Regions from separate parts of the Homo sapiens genome. Here region 2 is linked to region 1. Evidence: promoter capture Hi-C in 16 types of primary human blood cells and fetal thymus (Javierre and others, 2016). All regions are on one chromosome and are shown on one strand. The core of a region is centred on a gene start or on the middle of the fragment in contact, and the rest is flanking DNA. Distances in the headings are between cores, read along the strand shown. Region 1 holds the start of KLK2 (kallikrein related peptidase 2). Region 2 has its middle 15 kb from the start of LRRC4B.

Evidence for each region. Contacts are between HindIII fragments. The CHiCAGO score rates a contact against its expected background, and 5 or more counts as called.
Region 2: a fragment that was not itself captured here is called in contact with the fragment with the promoter of KLK2 in region 1 in 8 of 17 cell types (M1 macrophages, monocytes, total CD8 T cells and 5 more); the score reaches 10.0 in M1 macrophages.

What each region holds. Positions count from the first base shown.
Region 1 is chr19:50,870,255-50,875,751 of GRCh38, reverse strand. KLK2 (kallikrein related peptidase 2) reads right to left here and starts at 2,313. Exons shown (of 5, transcript NM_005551.5): 1 at 2,233-2,313; 2 at 872-1,031. The coding sequence starts at 2,278. RefSeq lists a cis regulatory region at 2,475-2,489, enhancers at 2,475-2,489, 4,965-5,259 and promoters at 2,288-2,641, 2,288-2,913, 2,288-5,497. The HindIII fragment of the contact is 10,018 bases long and covers 1-5,497 here.
Region 2 is chr19:50,580,620-50,586,116 of GRCh38, reverse strand. No RefSeq gene overlaps it. Among named protein-coding and RNA genes, the nearest start is that of LRRC4B, 15 kb to the right of the region's middle. The HindIII fragment of the contact is 176 bases long and covers 2,196-2,371 here.

The sequences.
Region 1 (5,497 bases), core at 1,064-3,563:
TCTCGGCTCACTGCAACCTCTCCCTCCCGGGTTCAAGCGATTCTCCTGCCTCAGCCTCCCTAGTAATTGGGATTACAGGCGCGCAGCACCACGCCTGGCTACTTTTTGTATTTTTAGTAGAGACGGGGTTTTGCCATGTTGGCCAGGCTGGTTTCAAACTCCTGACCTCAGATGATCCACCCACCTCGGCCTCCCAAAGTGCTGGGATTACAGGCGTGGGCCACCGTGCCCGGCCACCTTCCCCTCCTTTCTTGTTTCCCCTTCTCCTTCCTCCCTCCTCAATTGTGCACCCAGCTACAGCTGAAACCAGCCCTCCCTGTGTCTCCCCAGGGTGGAGGGATGTCCTGCAGAGAGTGCTGTGCAATGACAGGCACCCCCTCACATGCACACACATTGAGCTTAAAGTCCTTCCTTTTTCTGGGTGCTCCCCACCCACCCTCACGGGGTGTGTTCAGTAGTGATGAGGAAGGGCTGAGGCAGAGACCCAGAGAGAAAGACAGGCAAAGAGATGCAGGGTGAGACACACGGTGACAGAGATGGCCACAGAGAGACCCAGAGACAGAGACGGGGGAGACACAGACACAGGGAGACAGAAAAGAGAGAGGGACATAGAGACCAAAACACAGTCATACAGACACAACCAGAGCCAGATACCAAGAGACACAGCGAGATCAGACACAGAGAGAAACCCAGGCAGCCATGGGGAGAGTGGTCCAGCCCCAGCTCTGCCTCCGGGTGCGACCTGGGCCAGGACCTTCCCTCTCTCCTTTAGTCTGAAGCCTCACCTGAGAAGTGACCCTGGGGGAAGCATCCCGCTGTTATTCCTGTGGGACACAGCCATTCCCTCCCCAGATCCCAGGGTCCTACTTACTTCTTTAGGCAATGGGCAGCTGTGAGCACCCACTGGGGGTGCACCAGGACACCCCCACAGTGTGCCCATCCATGACTGTACACAGCCACCTGCCAGGGTTGGGAATGCTTCTCACACTCCCAGCCTCCCACAATCCGAGACTGGATGAGGGGCACGGCACCTGCGGAGGGGGTGCTGGGTCAGGGGGATCAGACCCAAAAGAATTGGATAGGGGAGGGAGCTGAGCTGTGGGTTTGAAGAGACATGGGGGCAGAGGACCAGGACTGGGAGTCCAGGACACAAGCAAGGGGTCCTGGGAGGGCTGGCAATTCTGTAGCTATTCCCTGCGTTAGCGGGTTGGTGGCTGGACCAGGTCGGGAGGCTTCATGCTCTGAGAACGGAGCTGACCCCAGAGATCAGAGTAGGGGACATGGGAAACATCTGAAGCAGGCATCGGGTTGGGGGTTGGGTCATTTGGAGTGATTTGGGGTCTTACACTGGGAGAAGGGACACTGTGGTGGCAGCTGTGGGTTCTAAGAGAATAAGAGGTTCCAGAAACCAAGGATAAGTGCCCAGTGGAGAGGTTTAGTTGCTGGGAGAGGAAGGTTTTGGATGGTTTACCATGTCCAAGGTTAAGCAAACAGTTCTGCCTGAGTTGTTTCTTGCTTTGTTTTGTTTTGTTTTGTTTTTGAGGTTTTGAAAAGGGTGCGGATTTAGGGAATCAGAGAACTGGCCGTTGTGGTTGGGGGTGCTCGTGTTTTTCCCATGGAAAAAGCTAGCCATTGAATGACGGGTCTGGGGCAAAGAGTCAGGGAAGGAGGAGTTCTGAAAGTCCCAGTGCCAGACTCAGGGTGGGAGGCAGCATTTGTTGTCTCAGGCCAGATAGCCTCGGGGGGAAGAAGGAAGTGTCTGGTGGAATCTGGGTTTCCTGGGACAGGGTTGGGGAGCCAGGTGTCAAGGTCCAGGGGACAGGGTTGAATGCTCACAGCTGAATAGGAAAAGTCAGTAGACTGTGGTAGGACTGAGGGGCTCAGGAGGCAGCCCAGTGATAGGGTCCAAGGAACCAGTGGCATGGAGAGAGGTCCTTGAAAGGTTTTGAACCCCATAAAGAGAAACACAGAGATGCCCAGGAACTTGCTCTTTAGTAAAGCAGCTGGGAGCAGGGATTTGGCTGGGCAATGGAGAGAAAGGTCTGAGGTAAGTGGGAGGGAGCGGGGACCTAGTGTGGGCATGAGGACTATTGCAATGTGGAAGAGTCAGGGGCACATTGTCTGGGCTGAACTGTGGGCTGAAGGGACGAGGCTGGGGCACTGGGTGGGAGGAAAAGGGCTTCAGCATAAGAGTCAGAACCCGCCCCCCTTCCTTTATCCCCCCAATCTCACCAGTGCACCCCACAGACAAGGCGATGGAGAGAACCAGGTCCCACATGCTGACACAGGTGTCCACGGCCAGGTGGTGAGTTTGGGGCTGGGGGGCCTCCCTGAGGAGCCCTATAAAGCCTTCATTCTCCAGGACCCCGCCCTTGCCCTGTTGGCACCTAGATGCTGACCAAGGCCCTCCCCATGCTGCTGGAGGCTGGACAACCCCCTCCCACACCCAGAGCTGTGGAAGGGGAGGGAGAGCCAGCACTTGCTGTTCCACACATACTAGATCAGTCTGGAGGCATTCCCACGGTGTGAGGTCAGATTGGGCAGGGCCTATGGATCATGGAGATGTGATCTAGGGAACAAAGCCAGAGAAGGCAGGCTCAGGATGAACAGCAACAGGGGTTGGGATGATCACTGATTCTTTTTTAAAAAAATTCTGAGACAGTCTCACTCTGTTTCCCAGGCTGGAGTGCAGCGGCGTGATCGCAGCTCCCTGTAGCCTTGAACTCCCAGACTCAACCGATTCTCCTGTCTCAGCCTCCAGGATAGCTGAGACCACAAGCATGCACCACCACATCCAGCTAATTTTTAATTTTTTTGTAGAGAGAGGGTCTGGCTATGTTGCCTAGGCTGGTCTCCAACTCCTGGGCTCAAGCCATCCTCCCACTTCGGTCTCCCAAAGTGATGAGATTACAGGCGTGAGCCACCACGGCCAGCCCCAATCATTGATTTTCAATACAAAGTCTCATGTGCCTAAGTCCCAAGTACTTCCTTTGCACCCCAAACCTAATATGCCCTGAAATATCAGAATGATCGGATTGTGAGACTTCCTGGTCCCTATACCCGTCTGAGCCCAGAAGCTGGACCTCCAACTTACCATGTTCCTGAAATAGAAGCGTTGGCATTCAGTACTCTCTGATTCTTGCACTTCCACACTCAGAAAATGGTTCCCCACATACATTTCTCCCTCATCATAAAACCTTGTGATACCACATATTGTCCAATCCAGAAATATGACTCTCCCAGACCAAGTTCCCTATTATTTCAAAATCCAATGTCCACTAAACAATATGGGGTTCCGGTGGCTCCTCACTCCTCATTCTCCATGCCTGTACAACGTACAGGTACAGCGGGGATTCCTGTTGACCTGCCCTCCTAGGTCAGAATTGTCCTCATGCAAAATCCAATGCCTCCTTCTCACTGAAATGTCTAGCTATCAGGAGCCAGGTTTATACACTCCAAGATTAAGCTGCAAGCCAGGCACGGTGAGTGGCTCATGCCAGCAATCCCAGTGCTTTGGGAGTCCAAGGCTGAAGAATCACTTGAAGTCAGAAGTTCAAGATCAGCCAGGGCAACAAAGTGAGACCCTTTCTCTACAAAAAAAAAAAAAAAATTTAATTAGCCAGGTGTGGTGGCAAGCACCTGTAGCCCCATCTACTCAGGAGGCTGAAGCAGGAGGATCCCTTAAGTCCAGGAGGTCAAGGGTTCAGTGAGCTATGATCACACCACTGCGCTCCAGCCTGAGTGACAGAGCAAAAGACCCAGACTGTGTCTCAAAAAAAAAAAAAAAAAAAAAAAGAATTAGGGTGGCATTGAGAAATCTCATTTTGGTGTCTCAGAAAAGAATCAAGAATAAGAGTCCTGGTGTTAACTCTTATTATAAGAGTCCACTGTTAACTCTATAAGATTTCTTTGATTTTGAAAAAAAAAATGTGATTTCATCTGTTCAATAAAACCAGAGCAGCTTACGCTGATCCAGACCCAGCTGTGTCTCAAGAATTTGACAAAATCTTCCCCCATTTCCAGCTGAATGACCAGATCAATTCCAAGTACAGTGAAGGAGACAGAAGTGGACATAGATAATCACAATTCAAGACCAGGATAGAGGGATATTCACAGCCAGTGGCCTGATTTCCCCCACACAACCACTCGTTCCCTGGAATGACCGTCTGAAAGGAAATTTGCCTCAGCTTGAATGAGAACCACCTGAATCCAGTGTCCCAAGCATATCCTCATCCCCATGATAACCTCAACCAAAACCTGACCCAAACCAATTTAACACAGCCCAATCCAACCACATCACCCACAAGCCCAACCCATCAACCCAACACAACTTAATCTAATTCAAGACAACCCTAATAGCCTCCTTCATTTAAAGATCAAACCAAACTAATGCACATCCTCGCATGCAATAGCCAGCTCCATGTATTCTATCTCCAAAACTAAACCTACTTCATCCCCAATTCAATCCCCACACCCTTCCCAGCCAACATAAAAACAAACCTATTTCCATCCCAAAGCCATGCCATCCCAAACCACCTTTAAATTGCCAATCCCCAAACTCATCCGAAGCAGAATTTTACCCCATCTGTAACTCAACTCCAACCTGACCCTCCATTCTAACTGGTCTTCATACTCCGTTTTCAATGCTATATCCAGCACTTTATCTGGCCAAAGGAGATCAAACACAACCACATCCCACTTCTCGAGCCAGTCCACAGCCTCCTCCCCACCCGTCATGGCCCCCTCTGGGCTCTGACCACACAGGAGTCCGTGCCTTCACCCGCTCTTCCTGCACACACCATGGTGTTCATCAGGGCCCTGGGTAGTCCCTGTTACAAGATGTGGTACAGATGAAGCTGATGCTGGCACAGTGCCTCGTATCTGGGAGACTCACTTGGGAGGACAGTGGAGTGGGGCAAACCCGTAAGTTCAGGCTCCTGTGCCCTCCACCCAGAAGTCCTTGAGATTTCATGGACAGCGACATATGGCCATTCTCTAGCACCTTTCAGTCCTGGTTTCCTGTGGTTCTAGGATCTTTATCGGACACCAGGCCCCGGCCTGGCACCACGCAGGCCACATCCACCAGGGGACGCACGTCCACAGCTCCATGGTTGGGACGTGACGGGAGAGGCGCGCTGCAGGGATAGTCGCAGCTACATGACGTCATGGCGCCGGCCTCGCCCGCATAGTGCAGATGCTGAATGATGAGTGGATGATGCCCCAGGCCTCGGGACATGGCACATGTGCAGATTATACTCGCGCAGGCGCACTCTTGTGGAACTAGAAGAGTAGGTGATTACCCTCAAGTGGAGTAAGGAGTAGATGGAAAGATCAAAGCATGGGCAACTCTCAGTCCTCTGACCCTTTGAGAATCAGGAGATTCCATTACCTTCACACCAAACCCTGGAGCCAATGGTTCCAGTCCTTGCTTCCCAGGGACCCACCAAGGAGTCTCAAGCTAACAAACCCCTGCAACTCAACCCCTCACAATTTCAGC
Region 2 (5,497 bases), core at 1,034-3,533, 290 kb after region 1:
AGGTGCCCGCCATCACACCCAGCTAATTTGGTATTTTTAGTAGAGACGGGGTTTCACCATGTTGACCAGGCTGGTCTCCAACTCCTGACCTCAGGTGATCCACCCGCCTCAGCCTCCCAAAGTTCTGGGATTACAGGCATGAGCCACTGAGCCCAGCCTGATTTTCTTTCTGCTGGTAATGGGACAGAGGACCTGTTCCCCCACATCCTCATCAGTGCTTTTTTTTTTAAGCTGAGCCTCTCTCTGTTGCCCAGGCTGGAGTGCAGCTGTGCGATCTCAGCTCGCCACAACCTCCGCCTCCTGGATTCAAGCGGTTGTCCTGCCTCAGCCTCCCAAGTAGCTGGGATTACAGGCGCTTGCCACTATGCCCAGCTAATTATTGTATTTTTAGTAGAGACGGGATTTCACCATGTTGGCCAGGCTGGTCTGGAACTCCTGACCTCAAGTGATCCGCCTGTGTTGGCCTCCCAAAGTGCTGGGATTACAGGAGTGAGCCACTGGCCCAGCCCATCTCATCAATGCTTACTACACCAGTTAACTTTGGTTTTGCCAGTCCTATGGGGGGAATATATATTGATTTCCTCTCCCTTAAGGCTATTGTCAGCCAAAACGCAGCACGAAGTAGAGGGAAAGTACCAGGTGGAAGAGCCTGTCACCGATAAGAGATCCTCCACCTCAGCCTCCTGAGCAGGCACGTATCACCACGCCTGGCTAATTTTTCTGATTCTTTGCAGAGACGGGGGTCTCCCTATGTTTCCCAGGCTGGTCTCAAACTCCTGGGCTCAAGCTATCCTCCCACCCTGGCCTTCCCAAGTGCTAAAATTATAGGTTACTCTGTCTCAAAAAAATAAAAATAATAAAATTATTAGTCAATAAGTCAGGAGTGGCTGGGTGTGGTTGCCCACGCCTGTAATCCCAGCATTTTGGGAGGCTGAGGAGGGCAGATCATTTGAGCCCAGGAGTTCGAGACCAGCCTGGGCAACATGGTGAAACCCCATAAATACAAAAATTAGCTGGGTATGGTGGTGGGCACCTGTAATCCCAGCTACTTGGGAGACGAAGGCAAGAGAATCACTTGAACCAAGGAGGTGGAGGTTGGAGTGAGCTAAGATTGCACCGCTGCACTCCAGCCTGGGTGACAGAGACTCTGTCTCAATAACAATAATAATAATAATAAAATTATTAGTCAATAAGGCAGGAGTGGCCAGAAATGGTGGCTTATGCCTATAATCCCAGCACTTTGGGAGGCCAAGGCGGCTGGATCACTTGAGCCCAGGGGGCTTGAGCCCAAGAGTTTGAGACCAGCCAGGGCAAACATGACAAAACCCCATCTCTACAAAAAAATACAAAAATAAGCTGGGCGTGGTGGCAGGCGCCTGTAGTCCCAGCTACTCAGGAGGCTGAGGTGGGAGGATTTCTTGAACTCAGGAGGTGGAAATTGCAGTGAGCTGAGATTGTGCCACTGCACTCCAGCCTGGGTGACAGAGCAAGACTCTGTCTCAAAATAATAATAATAATAATATGGCAGGGCCGGGCACAGAAGCTCACGCCTGTAATCCCAGCACTTTGGGAGGCTGAGTCAGGCAGATCATCTGAGGTCAGGAGTTTGAGACGAGTCTGGCCAACGTGGTGAAACCCCATCTCTACTAAAAATACACAAATTAGCCGGGCATGGTGGTACCGGCCTGTAGTCCCAGCTACTCTGGAGGCTGAGGCAGGAGAATCGCTTGAACCTGGGAGGCAAAGGTTGCAATGAGCTGAGATTGTGCCACTGCACTCCAGCCTGGGCAACAGAGCGAGGCTCTGTCTCTAAAAATAAAAAATAAAAATAAAAATAAATAAAATAAATAAATAACTTAGGAGTGAAATGAAAACAGGCTACAGGTAAAGCAGCATCCCCAGATCACATGTACTCCATTAACACTTAAGTTTTTTTCAGATTTGGCTATAATAAATGATTCTATGAGATACATCTCTGTGTGTATATTTTTGTCTACCTCTCTGATGACTTCCTGAATATAAGTTCCTATGAGTTGAATTGCTGGGTCATTAACAAAAGTTTTCTGCAGAAGCTAAAGCAATTTTCACATTAACTGTTTCATTTAGTTCCTTTTATAAAGCCCAAAGGCATAGCATTACAACAGCTCAGTGATTCCTTCCTCTGCCCATCAAATGAGCAACAAATGTTTTAAGCTTCTACCAAATGCTAGAGAGAGTGCAGCCAAACAGACATGCATGCTGATACTCAGTTGTCAGAAGGTAAATTGCCACAATTTTGGAAAGCAAATTGGTGAAAGGTGTCAAATACAGGAACAATGTCCATACCCTGAAAATATCCCATGCCTGGGAATTCACCTGAAAGTCAGAAGCTTACAAAGAGGTTCATGGTGATATTTTATAATAGTTTTTTTTTTTTTTTGAGATGGAGTCTTGCTCTTCTCACCCAGGCTGGAGTGCAGTGGCGTGATCTCGGCTCACTGCAACCTCGGCCTCTCAGTTTCAAGCGATTCTCCTGCCTCAGCCTCCTGAGAAGCTGGGACTACAGGCGCGTGCCACCATGCTCAGCTAATTTTTGTATTTTTAGTAGAGACAGGGTTTCGCCATCTTATCCAGGCTGGTCTCGACCTCCTGACCTCAGGTGATCCGCCCATCTTAGCCTCCCAAAGTGCTGGGATTACAGGTGTGAGCCACTGTGCCTGGCCTTTATTTTTATTTTTTATTTTTACTTCTTTTTTGAACAGAGTCTTGCTCTGTCACCCAGGCTGGATGGGTGCAGTGGTACCATCTCGGCTCACTGCAACCTCCACCTCCCGGGTTTAAGCGATTCTCCTACTTCAGCTTCCCAAGTAGCTGGGACTATAGGCACGCACCACCAAACCTGGCTAATTTTTGTATTTTTAGTGGAGACGGGGTTTTACCATGTTAGCCAGGCTGGCCTCAAACTCCTGAGCTCAACAGATCCACCCACCTCAGCCTCCCAGAGTTCTGGGGTTATAGGCATGAGCCACCATGCCAGGCCTAGTTTTTGAAAAATAAAATTACCAGAGTATCCAACTAGAAAGGAATGGTTAAATTAACCATGCTGTATCCACTCAACAGAATATTAAGTCAGGGCCTTACTCCTAAAGCATGGCCTTCCTGAGCTTTCAGCTGAGTGCCCAGGAGCTTAGTGAGGCCCTCCCACTCTGGCTGGGCTGGAGACTCATCTCCTAGCGCTGCATGACGGCTTTTATTTCTGTTCATCTCTCATCTTTGTAGCAGCTACCCCCGACTGGTACTCATGGAGTCTTGTCCTCTGCAGACACCGTCCAGTCCTTAGCCAAGGACCTATGGTGAACTACACACAGGCTTCTGGGGGCCCACCTCATGCGGCTCCCTTTTCCCCACTGCCCTATCCTGCAAATTCCAGCCTTGTCAGCAGCCCCCAGAGCCCTCTCTCTGTCTCCTCGGCTCAGTAAGACTGCTCTGGGCCAGGCACGGTGGCTCACGCCTGTAATCCCAACACTTTCGGAAGCTGAGACGGGCAGATCCCTTGAGGCCAGGAGTTCAAGACCAGTTTTGGCAACACAGCAAAACCCCGTCTCTACTAAAAATACAAAAATTATCCAGGCGTGAAGTGAGGAGCGCCTCTGCCCGGCCACCCCGTCTAGGAAGTGAGGAGCCCCTCTGCCCGGCCGCCACCCTGTCTGGGAAGTGAGGAGTGCCTCTGCCTGGCCGCTGTGCAATCTTCCAAGTGTGAAGTGACAGCCTTTCTGCAGGTGTCCCCAACAGCTCATTGAGAACGGGCCATGATGACGATGGCGGTTTTGTCAAAAAGAAAAGGGGGAAATGTGGGGAAAAGAAAGAGAGATCAGATTGTTACTGTGTCTGTGTAGAAAGAAGTAGACATAGGAGACTCCATTTTGTTCTATACTAAGAAAAATTCTTCTGCCTTGGCATGCTGTTAATCTATAACCTTTCCCCCAACCCCGTGCTCTCTGAAACATGTGCTGTGTCCACTCAGGGTTAAATGGATTAAGGGCGGTGCAAGATGTGCTTTGTTAAACAGATGCTTGAAGGCAGCATGCTCGTTAAGAGTCATCACCACTCCCTAATCTCAAGTACCCAGGGACACAAACACTGCGGAAGGCCGCAGGGTCCTCTGCCTAGGAAAACCAGAGACCTTTGTTCACGTGTTTATCTGCTGACCTTCTCTCCACTATTATCGTATGACCCTGCCACATCCCTCTCTCCGAGAAACACCCAAGAATGATCAATAAATACTAAAAAAATTAAAAAAAAAAATTACCCAGGCATGATGGCACGAGTCTATAATCCCAGCTACTTGACAGGCTGAGGCAGGAGAACCGCTTGAACCCAGGAGGTGGAGGTTGCATTTAGCTGAGATCACACCATTGCACTCCAGCCTGGGTAACAGCGAGACTTGGTCTCAAAAAAAAAAAAAGATAATAGAAAGAAGAGAAGAGAAAACACAAAAAAACAACTGCATTGTTTTAGCCCCGTATCTCTGTGCTGTGGTAGGGACAGGGCTCCCAGTGAGGAACCTGGGCCAACACATGGGCTCACCTTCACCATCGTCTCTTCTCAAGGATCGCAGTCCTCTTTCCACTGTTCAACGCCTGAAAACAGTGGCCCTCCTGTATTTTGTCCAGTTTCATAGCTGTTTTTTGCAGGAGGGCACGTCTGGTGCCAGTGACTCATCCCAGCCGTACGCAGGAGCGATGTGTTACATTTGTAATGGAAGAAAAAAACCCTCATGATTCAATTTTGTCCCAAACATTATGGCAGAGTAGAAAGAACATGTGCTCTGGAGTGCAGTAGAACAGGTCTCGATTCCACACTCCGACGCTTCGTTCCTGTGCGGTGGTCTTGTGTAAGCACCTCAGCTCTTTGCACTTGAGTCTTCTCTGTAAAGTGGAGAGGAGGATATTAATAGCACCTTCCTTGCAGGATTGTTGGTGGGGTCAGAGGTAATCCAAGCACTTATCTCATGCATGGCAGACCAACAAGAACAATTAATGTTTTGTTATGGGGAAGGATGATTCTGTTTCAGGAAAGGTATTTAAAGTGCAGAGAAGCCTGCATGGATTGTATGTAAAATTCCACAAATTCCATGAAAATACTCAGTTCTCCTGGCATTTTCCAGACACTGGGAATGTAGTCATCACTGAAAATAGACCAGGTCCTTGTTCTCATGGAGTTTGCCTTCAAGTGAGGGAAGACAGTGAGTAGAAAGGAAAGAAGCGAAGAAAATTTCAGCCTGGGCGCCGTGGCTCATGCCTGTAATCACAGCATTCTGGGAGGCCAAGGAGGGCAGATCACTTGAGGTCAGGAGTTCGAGACCAGCCTGGCCAACATGACAAAACCCCTTCTCTACTAAAAATACAAAAATTAGCCTGGCGTGGTGGTACACGCCTATAATCCCAGGTACTCAGGAGGCTGAGGCACAAGAATTGCTTGAAGCTGGGAGGCAGAGGTTGCAGGGAGCCGAGATGGC